Linked DNA regions of Homo sapiens: regions 2 and 3 are each linked to region 1. The links are contacts of gene promoters, found by promoter capture Hi-C in blood cells and fetal thymus (Javierre and others, 2016). All regions are on one chromosome and are shown on one strand. Each heading gives the region's core, a stretch centred on a gene start or on the middle of the fragment in contact. The rest is flanking DNA. Distances are from core to core; before and after follow the strand shown. Region 1 holds the start of IL1RL2 (interleukin 1 receptor like 2). Region 2 has its middle 69 kb from the start of IL1R2. Region 3 has its middle 62 kb from the start of IL1R1.

Region 1 (3,210 bases), core at 253-2,752:
AGTGAGAGGCACTGCAGGGGACTGGGATGGCCTGTCTTAACTTCATACATTTTGGGGCAACAATACCCATTAAACTTGGCATATATACTAGTCCTCAGGCTAAGAAATAAGATAGGACACAAATGCATCTATTCATAAAGTGAAAATGAAAAAAGATAGCATAAAGATTTAGAAATACCTTTCAACACTGCTCATAGAAATAATTCTGAATGCAAATCATATGACTTTTATAAAAATAGTAACACTTTTGTTTTGTTTTGGATGAGGACATAAACGCTGAAGAATATACATATACAGAGGAACCTCGTTTACTGCTGATAGTAGGGGAAATAAATAATAATCTCTATTTATAGCTTAAGAAAGAGGTCCTCAAAGAGTGGGAGCCCTATGGGTCCCTGAGAGACCCTTCAAAAAGATCTGTGAAATCAAAACTATGTTCATCGTAATATTAAGACCTTATATTCCTTTTTTATTCTCATTCTCTCATTAGTGTATGGTGGACCTTTTCAGAAGCTATATGACATATTATATCATGACACTGATTGCAGAAGCAAGTATGAGAATCCAGTCATCTTCTAGTAAGCCAGACATCAAAGAGATCTGCATCTATGTAGAACAATGCCGCTTTTCTCAATAAGCCTGTTTTAGAAAGTAGAGTTATTTTTCATAAATTGTATGATATTTGCGTTAACATGTAATGGGTTTATTGTCACTTAAATAAGAAAGTAAACGTTTAAAAATTCTCCCTTTAACTTCTAATGTAGTAATATTGACAGGCATAACCTACATAGACAAAAGCACTTTGGAATCCTCAATACTTTTTAAGAGTGTAGAAATCTACAAACCACTGACCTTCAGCCTATCACAGGAAGCTTTGCTATTAGCACAATTATTGCATCTCTGCTCCTATGGTTGCTTTTGTCTCACTGTCTCTGATCTTTCAAAGACCGTTGGGAAGAGCTTGACCAGTAATCTATTGAATGGAGATTACATTTTGAACCTTTTCCTACAACTCAGTGCCCTGTGGGATGACTCTGGGGTGTCTCCTGATGGCTAGGGCAACAGGTCCCTGTTGACATCACCTTATCGGGAAGTTTTAGACAGGAACAGTCTTCAGGCTCTGAAGTACTTGAACACCATGGGATTCCTGCCTTACAGAAGTTAATGAGCACGACTCAGGCAGATTCATAATTCTCCTTAGAAGCCATTTGGGATGGCTTCCACTTTGGGGTCATTCCACATAGGCCAATGCAGAGCATGCAGTAACTGCTCAAATAGGATTTGGAAAGGAATGAATAATTCATTTAGACGTTCAACTTGGAATAGACTTAAGCAGACACTCCTGGTGATGAAGGACTTAGATGCCAGAAAATCAGGCTCAAAGACTTTCAAGCCACTTCCTAGTGTGATGTCACATTCCTTCCTACGCTCCACTGGGGAAGGCAGGTCTGCCCCGCCCACGGTGGCGGGGAAATACCTAGGCATGGAAGTGGCATGACAGGGCTCGTGTCCCTGTCATATTTTCCACTCTCCACGAGGTCCTGCGCGCTTCAATCCTGCAGGCAGGTAGACACCGGGCCGGGAGTCTGGCTGAGCCAGGCATGGGTGGGGCCCTGACAGTAGGAGAGGTGTGCAGGAAAAGACGTGGCAACAATGTGTGCCACCGCAGGCCAGGGATCAGGCCCCCCAGGCCGGCCCCCGACCGGCTAGGTGACCATGGGGGAGCCGACTCCGTCTCTGGGTCGAGGAGTGGAGCTCGCGGCTATTTTCAGCTCCAGCGGCTCCCTGCCTTCCTTTCTCCTTTCCCGCTGGCCCTTGCCAGGTAGGCCTGCCCTGGCTGCTCCCCAGTGAGCGGGTGTTTGGGGTTTCTGTTTAGACCGCCAGGCTCGGGTGGATCCCGAGGACACAGGCGCGCAGGGGAGGCTCCGTGCGCCGCGAGCGGGGTTGGGGTCCCACGTCTGGAACCCAGGCCGCAGGCTGCGCTGGGGGGCGCCCTGGCCCTCACGGGGGCTCTGGACACCAGCCTGCTTCGCTGTCAGGTGGCAGAAGCAGCTCCCACGCGGTCCCCACCGCCGCCGCCGCCTACTCCTCGCCCATCCTCCTCTGCGGCGGGGCGAGCTCCCTGCCCTGGATCCTGGTCGGGCGCCCAGACGAAGGAGACAGGGGAAGGGCAGTCTTTGGGGAAACGTGGGGCCAAAGTCGGAGGGCTCCCCAGGAAAAAGGGAAGGTCAGCGGCCTGGGCGGTTGTCTTTGAGATTCCGAGGTCGCCCACGCCGGCGCCTCGGGCCCGCCCTACTGCGTCCTCCCCTCCCACCCTCTTCTCCCTTCCTTGCAGCCCGGTTTGGGGATGTGGTCCTTGCTGCTCTGCGGGTTGTCCATCGCCCTTCCACTGTCTGTCACAGCAGGTACGTTCCGTGTGTCCTCCGTTCCCAGAGGCTGCCCGAGTCCACAGGCTCCTGGCCTGTCATTGGGAGCCCCCGGGGATCGCGTCAGCCCGAGCGCGGCTCCTTCCCCTCCCCAGACCGCCAGGCGGAGTTCCGCGGAAGAGGAAACAGAGAACCAGCTCCACGTGCTCGGATGCTCAGCCCTGAATGTCGCCTTTGAGCTTGGAGGTGACTTCGGGGAGGGGAAGGAGTTAGGCAAATTCCAAGTGAAGACTTGAGTAACAATGCTCAAATGGAATTACTACAGGCTATTTTATAAGATAAAGCGTTATTTTATGACACAAGGTGAAAGCAAGGAAACCGTCAATAGAACAAATTTCTTCTAAGAAATTTGGTATGGCCGGGCGCAGTGGCTCATGCCTGTAATCCCAGTACTTTGGGAGGCCAAGGCGGGCGGATCACGAGGTCAGGAGATCTAGACCATCCTGGCTAACACGGTGAAACCCCGTCTCTACTAAAAATACATTAAAAAAATTAGCCGGGCGCGGTGGCGGGCGCCTGTAGTCCCAGCTACTCAAGAGGCTGAGGCAGGAGAATGGCGTGAACTCGGGAGGCGGAGCTTGCAGTGAGCCGAGATTGAGCCTCTGCACTCCAGCCTGGGCGACAGAGAGAGACTCCGTCTCAAAAAAAAAAAAAAAAGGAAATTTGGTAGAAATGAACTTTAAAAGTGAACCAAATTTTTTTTCTTAAACAATCGTTTTGGGATGAAATACCTTTTACTCAAGACAGAGTAAAATAACTGGGTGGCAGAGCAGAAACAGAAAAG
Region 2 (3,210 bases), core at 371-2,870, 130 kb before region 1:
TAAAGTATGTAAAGTTCTTGTCACAGAAGACAGTCAACAAGTTAAAGCTGACATGTCCTTCCACCTCGAGGGTCTCAAACCTCAAGTGCATGCTGTCTCTATCTCTCTCTCTCTCTGTCCCCTCTCATCGTACCCTTACACCCTTTGGACAATTATGTGACCTCTCAGAGCCTCAGTGTCTTCAACTCTAATAGAGAATCACAGAGTTGCTGGAATGCCCAGGACAACGAAATTCTAAATTAATGCTTTCAATCCCAGGTGCAGTTTCCCTGTGTTTGTGCAGGGCTGGGCCGAGTTAGGAGCCTGAATCTCTCTCCACCTCCATGGCTTCTCCAGGAGGCTTCATCTTGCTGCGGAGGTGGACTGCAGATGGCCACTGCCACCACTCCTCAGAGGGCATGTTATACTGGTGGAGTTAATAACTGACACCTGGGAGATTAGGTCTGTGGCTCTCCTTTCTCTCTAGTGATGATCAGTTCTATCCATGGGGACTCAGAACGGAGGGCCAGAGAGGACTGCAGAAACAAAGTCCAGAGATGTGAAGTGACTTGTCCAAGATCCCAAAGCTTGTCCATGTCTGAATCACGATAAACAACTTCAGGGATGGTCTCTCTATGATATTTAAAACAGTGTGTGTTGTCTTCTGCTTTTCCTTTGATTTGGAGCCTGCTGTTATAACACTGTCTTGTTGGACTGCCACGTGTCCACTGGGAATTGCTCCCAGAGCAGAATTGGACTCAGCAGGGCTGCAGCGGAGTGTGGTGAAAGGACTGCTGAACAGGGTGGGGAGCAGAGGTCTGAGGGCCAGTCTCCCTATCCACTGCTGACTTTTCTTGGGTATTTGAGGTTTTCCTAGGTTTAAATTAGTTGAATAAAATAGATAGTTTTCAGGCCTTTTGATTGTTCAATGCTCTGGAATTGGAGCCCTTTGGACAGAAGAAATTTACATGTCACCTTAAAACATACATAAAAAAGTGCAAAGCTGCTCCAGTTGAAGTTAGAAGAGGAAAGCAAGAACCTCTTTCCCTGGGCACCCCTGAAGCACATTGCGGAACCCTGGGCCTCCTCAGAGCACAGTCTGGAAACCTCCAGACTGGAGGCCTCTAAGATCTTCTGGTGGGATGATAAGTGTGAGATGCATCCAGAGGTACTACCAAAGATCTTCACTTCTCCAGGGTCCTCCCAGGAATATACATTTGTCTCAGAAGCCAGCAAACTCCCTTGTCTTCCCTTCACTTCCTGCCCATGTGCCAAGGTGGTAGGTTTCAGAGTTAATGGAAAGCTGGGACTTGACCCTGTTCCTCAAGGAGCTTATTCTTAAACTTTCAAGGCAGATGCCCCACGAATGTTTGAAAAATAGATGAAAACACCTCTTTTGAGGGATACAGAAGCCAAAAACTGTGCCTAGCACCCAGTCCTCAGTAAGAAGTACATTTGGCATGGTGCCCAGAGCATATATGCTTATCCATATGAATGCCATAAAAAACCTGGAGAGAATCCATTCTCTTTGTTTCATTAAAAAGATGCTGGTGGTGAGCCACTGACGTGCTTTTGTGATCCCTTAATGGGTTGTGCTCTGGAGAACGCTGGCACGGGTGTGCTCACTGGTTACTCCCTGCAACCACACTGGGGTCACATTTAGGTCTCTTTTGCTACATCTAAGGTCAGCAAACTATGACCCACTGACAAACTGTGGGTGGTCACCTACTTCTGTATGGCTCAGGGACACTCTGCAAGCGCTGTGAGCTGCAGGACCCAAGCTGAGGTGGTTCCATCTGTCCCTGTCCCCTACTTGGCTTCCAGCACCTGCCTCCCCTGCCAGAGGACTCACCTTCCTGCCACACAGGGCCCATGCTGGTCACTCCTACAGCATGGGGGCTCTGCTGTTGCAATGCGGGGCGCCAGGCTGCAGAATCTAAGTCTGGGAATTGGTGACGTGTTAGCTTCACTTCCGTTCAGCTGTCCAGAGGGAGGGGGCCGGGATCTCCAGGAGGAGCTGGTTTGGTTGTCCCTGGGGCAAAGAGAGAAAATGACCGTGGTGGCCAAGTCCCCTTCAACTCCCTAAGCCCACTGAGCTGGCTTGCCAGGCCCCTCCCTCCATCAGGCTGCCCTTCTTCCCAGGACCGTCTCCAGTGGGTTCAGGGCACACTGTGCCTGCCCACAGGAAGCCCACCCCAGGCAGATAGGGCCAGGCATGCAGAGGTTTCTCTCTTGTTATAGAAGTATCTACATTATATAAATACACACACATATATCATATATATTTTATGTATATATAACATATGAAATATGCTTCTTGGCCTACAGTGTCTAAAATATTTACTATTTTAGAAATGTTTGCCTCTCCCAGTGCTACCTGATTATGGCTGTGCGTTACATGACCCTATAAAGATTTAACTGCTTTTAATAACAATAAACAATAATATTAGCTACCATTTATTGAGGCTCAGAAAGGTTGAGTAACTTGCCTAAAGTCACACAGCTAGTAAATGGCAGAGCGGGATCTTGCAGTGATGGTTTCGAGGGAGAGGAGAATCACTGACAGACTTGGTTCCTGCCATGCAGATGCAGGCGTCCCCTGGGACTTCAGCTTCTCCAGGGCCACCCTCACTCCAGAACTGCTGGTCAGCTCTGTGACCCATCTCTCCTCATGAGCTTGCTCTGGGGTGGCTGCCAAAGCTTCTTTTTAATTATTATGGTCATGCGTGAGAACACTGGGGCCAGAAGCTTCTATTTTTCCAGCGTTTTCTTTCCTGTGGGGCCTCCCAGCTTCAGCCATTCCTTTGTAACTTGGCTGACACCCCTCCAGTTTCCACTTCACTTCATGGGTTCAGAGAAGAGACCATGGTTGCTAAGCCCTGCTGAGTGTCATTTCTGGTGTGTCAGAGTTGACAATTCTCCTGCTTCTTGACTACTCCTGACTCATCTTTACAGAACAGACACATCTCACTTCTTGAGCATCACTGAAGAATGTTCTGTAAAGTAAAATTTCCAGGAAACAGAGCTTACTGCTCAGAACACTCAACTTTAGAAACTTGGAACTATTTTGCACATTAATCTTTGCAGAATCAATTTCACCATGGCTTGCACTCTGAAGCAGAGCTCATGGCACACATTTAACCTTTTCTGAAAACTTAGTACACCCACGCATTCTTAAGCAGAGGTCATTGCATACATTTAATCTTTTCTTGGTAACTTAACACGTCCATT
Region 3 (3,210 bases), core at 446-2,945, 110 kb before region 1:
ACATGAAATAGAGCAGCTATAAAAGAATCATATGCCATGACCAAGTGGGATTTATCCTAAGAATGCAACATTATTTCAACATCCAAAAATCAATCAATGTAATGCAACATATTAATAGAATAAAGGATGGAATTGCATAATCATCTCAATAGATGCAGACAAAATGTCTGATAAAATCTGACACCCTTTCAAGATTAAAAACAACAACAACAACAACAACAAACCAACAAAAATCAGCAGAGTAGTAATAGAAGAGGACTTTCTTAACCTGATAATGGGCATCCAAAAAACCCCACAGCTAACATTATACTTAATGATCAAAGACCAGTAGCTTTCCCTCTGTGATCAGGAAGAAGAGAAGGATGTTTAATCCTACCACTTCTATTCAACATTGTACTAAGAATGCTAGCTAGGGAAATTTGGCAAGAAGAAATAAAATTCATATTGGAAAAAACCAGCTCTATTCTCAAATGACCTGGTCTTGTATATAGAACATTCTAAGGAATCCACTAAAAACTATTAGACTACTAAACAAGCTCAGTAAGTTTGCAAGATACAAAATCAATATATGAAAATTAATTGTATTTTTATATATTAGCAATGAAAAATTTGAAAATGAAATTAAGAAAACAATTCTACTTACAATAGCTTCAAAAAGAATAAAATAGCATAAACTTAAGAAAAGAAGTATAAGACTTGTACACTAAAAGTATAAAATATTATTGAAAGTAATTTTAAAATCGCTCAATTAATTGAAAGACATCCCATGTTCATGAATCAGAAGACTTAACTTTTTTAAAGATGGCAGTACTCCCCAAATGTATCCCAGATTTATCACAATCCTTATGAATATCCAAATTGCCTTTATTGCAGAAATTGAGAAACTGCTCATAAAATACACAAGGAAATGCAAAGGATGGAGAATATCCAAAACAATCTTGAAAAATAACAAAGTCAATGACTTACACTCCCATTTTAAAACTTACTACAAAGCAACGGTATCCAAGACAGTAGGATGTTCTCAGAGTATAAATATAAAAATCAATAAAAATAGAATTAAGAATTCAGAAATATGCCCTTACGTTTATGGTCAATTGGTTCCAAGAAAGATGCCAGCAATTCAGTGGGGGAAAGAATAATCTTCTTAATAAAAGGTGATGGGACATCTGGATATCCACATGTGAAGAAAAAATTTGCATCTCTATCTCATACTGTACACAAAAATTTACTCAAAAAGCAATCATAGAACTAAACGTATGATCTAGAACTGCAAAACTCTTAGAAGGAAATATAAATATAAATCTTTGTGACCTTGAATTGGGCAATGCTTCCTTAAGTATACAGCGCCAGAGCACAAGCAACAACAAAATAGATAATTGCACTTCACCAAAATTAAATCCTTTCATGTTTTAAAGTACTCTCTTAAGAAAGTGAAAATATAGCTCATGGAGTGGGATAAAATATTGGCAAATTATCTGATAATGAACTTGTATCCATAATATGCACAAATCTCTGATAAATTAACAATAAAAAGACAACCCAATTAAAAAGTGAGCAAAAGATTTGAATGGACATTTCGCTGAAGAAGATAGATAAAGGGTTGCTAAGCACATTAAAAGATGCTCGACATTACTGGTCATTAGCAAACGCAAAGCAAAACATACTAAGATGCCATCCACTAGAATGACGGGATGAAAGAGGCCAGAAATAATAAATGTTAGTGAGGACATAGAGAAACTGGTACACTCATTTATTACTGGAAGGAATGTAAGATGGTACAGCTACTTTTAAAATAGTTTGTGGTTCTTTGAAATGTTCAACATAGAGTTGCCATATGACTCAGCAATTCCACTCCTAGGTATCTATGTGACATAATTAACAACACAAAAATCTGTACACCAATTTTCATAGCAACATTATTCAAAATAGCCAAAACATAGAAACAACCCAAATGTCCATTAATGGATGAATGGATTAACAATATGCAGTATATCCAAACAACGGAATATTATTCAGCCATGGAAAGGAGTGAAGTACTACCTATACACAGTACAACATAGAGGAACCTTGAAAGCATTATGCTAAGTGAGAGGAGCTAGTTACAGAAGCCCACACATTGTATAATTCCATTTATATGGAATGCTTAGAATAAGCAAATTTATAGAATCAGAAAGTAGTATATAGATTGCCAGGGGCTAGAAGAAAGGGGAACGAAGAGTGATTGCTAATGAGTATGAAGTTTCTTTTGGGGGTGATGAAAATGCTCTGAAATTGGATAGTGGTGATGGGTGCGCAACTCTATGAATATACTGAAACCCTTTGAATTGTACACTTTTAAAAGGGTAATTTTATGCTGTGTGAATGACATCTCAATAAAATTCTCATTAAAATAAGAATATATGAGAGTATCTATTTCTAACTGTAGAGATTTTTGCAAATCCTGCAGAAATATGCTGAATTAGTTACAACCAGCTAAGGGAGCCTGGGATGGAAGAGTTTGAACCACACCCAATGGCCTGCATCTGGTGCTCTCCCAAGATCCATGGAAATAATCTTCCAACCTGCAATGTACCAGGGCATCTACCAGCCTGGCTCCACGGTGGTTTCAGGCATTGCTCTACAAATGATCAAGTTTTCATTCTAGAGTACGAATGAGGATTGAGTTAGACTAACTGTACAAGGGACAGGAAATAACAGCTCCTTCCCTGTCCTGGGGTCAGTGGTTTGAAAAGCACCCCATCTATCAGTGAATATCCAGCTTCCTGACAAAGAAAAGGGCTAGGGGATTTGCCCCCACCCTGTTTAGAAGGCGAAGGCGAATTAGGCCTGAATGGCGACTTGATTCTCATCTGAATATCAGAGAAACACATGTGTTGCAGGCTACACTGGAAGTCCTAATGGCTTCAGTTTGATAGTGGATTTGGGCTTAATGGTTGAGCAACTCCAGTGGCTTCCTCTCTTGATTACGTTGGTGGCTGTGAGATGAACTACCCAGTCATCAGTCATCATTATCAATGGCCCATTTGCCTGGGATGCTTTGGAAGAATGAAAGAGAGTAAAGGCAGTTCTACTTTTAAAGAAGTTAAAACATGGGCTACAGAGCATTTTCGTTTATTGTTTATCAAATGTTAGCCTGCCTCAGAATACCTGGAGGGCACAGATTCCTAGGTCCCACCTCTGGAGCTGCTAAGTCAGTTGATGTGGGCAAAT

What was found. The method cuts DNA at HindIII sites, captures the fragments that hold promoters and counts their contacts. A CHiCAGO score of 5 or more calls a contact.
Region 2: a contact is called between a fragment that was not itself captured here and the fragment with the promoter of IL1RL2 in region 1, in 1 of 17 cell types (activated CD4 T cells). The highest score is 5.9, in activated CD4 T cells.
Region 3: a fragment that was not itself captured here is called in contact with the fragment with the promoter of IL1RL2 in region 1 in 2 of 17 cell types (activated CD4 T cells and M2 macrophages); the score reaches 6.8 in activated CD4 T cells.

Annotation. Positions count from the first base shown.
Region 1 is chr2:102,185,521-102,188,730 of GRCh38, forward strand. It overlaps IL1RL2 (interleukin 1 receptor like 2), which reads left to right and starts at 1,503. Exons shown (of 12, transcript NM_003854.4): 1 at 1,503-1,566; 2 at 2,336-2,405. The coding sequence starts at 2,348. RefSeq lists an enhancer at 1,159-1,688. The HindIII fragment of the contact is 3,870 bases long and covers 871-3,210 here.
Region 2 is chr2:102,059,540-102,062,749 of GRCh38, forward strand. No RefSeq gene overlaps it. Among named protein-coding and RNA genes, the nearest start is that of IL1R2, 69 kb to the left of the region's middle. The HindIII fragment of the contact is 2,113 bases long and covers 565-2,677 here.
Region 3 is chr2:102,078,855-102,082,064 of GRCh38, forward strand. It overlaps a transcript of IL1R1 not described here. Among named protein-coding and RNA genes, the nearest start is that of IL1R1, 62 kb to the right of the region's middle. The HindIII fragment of the contact is 5,005 bases long and covers 1-3,210 here.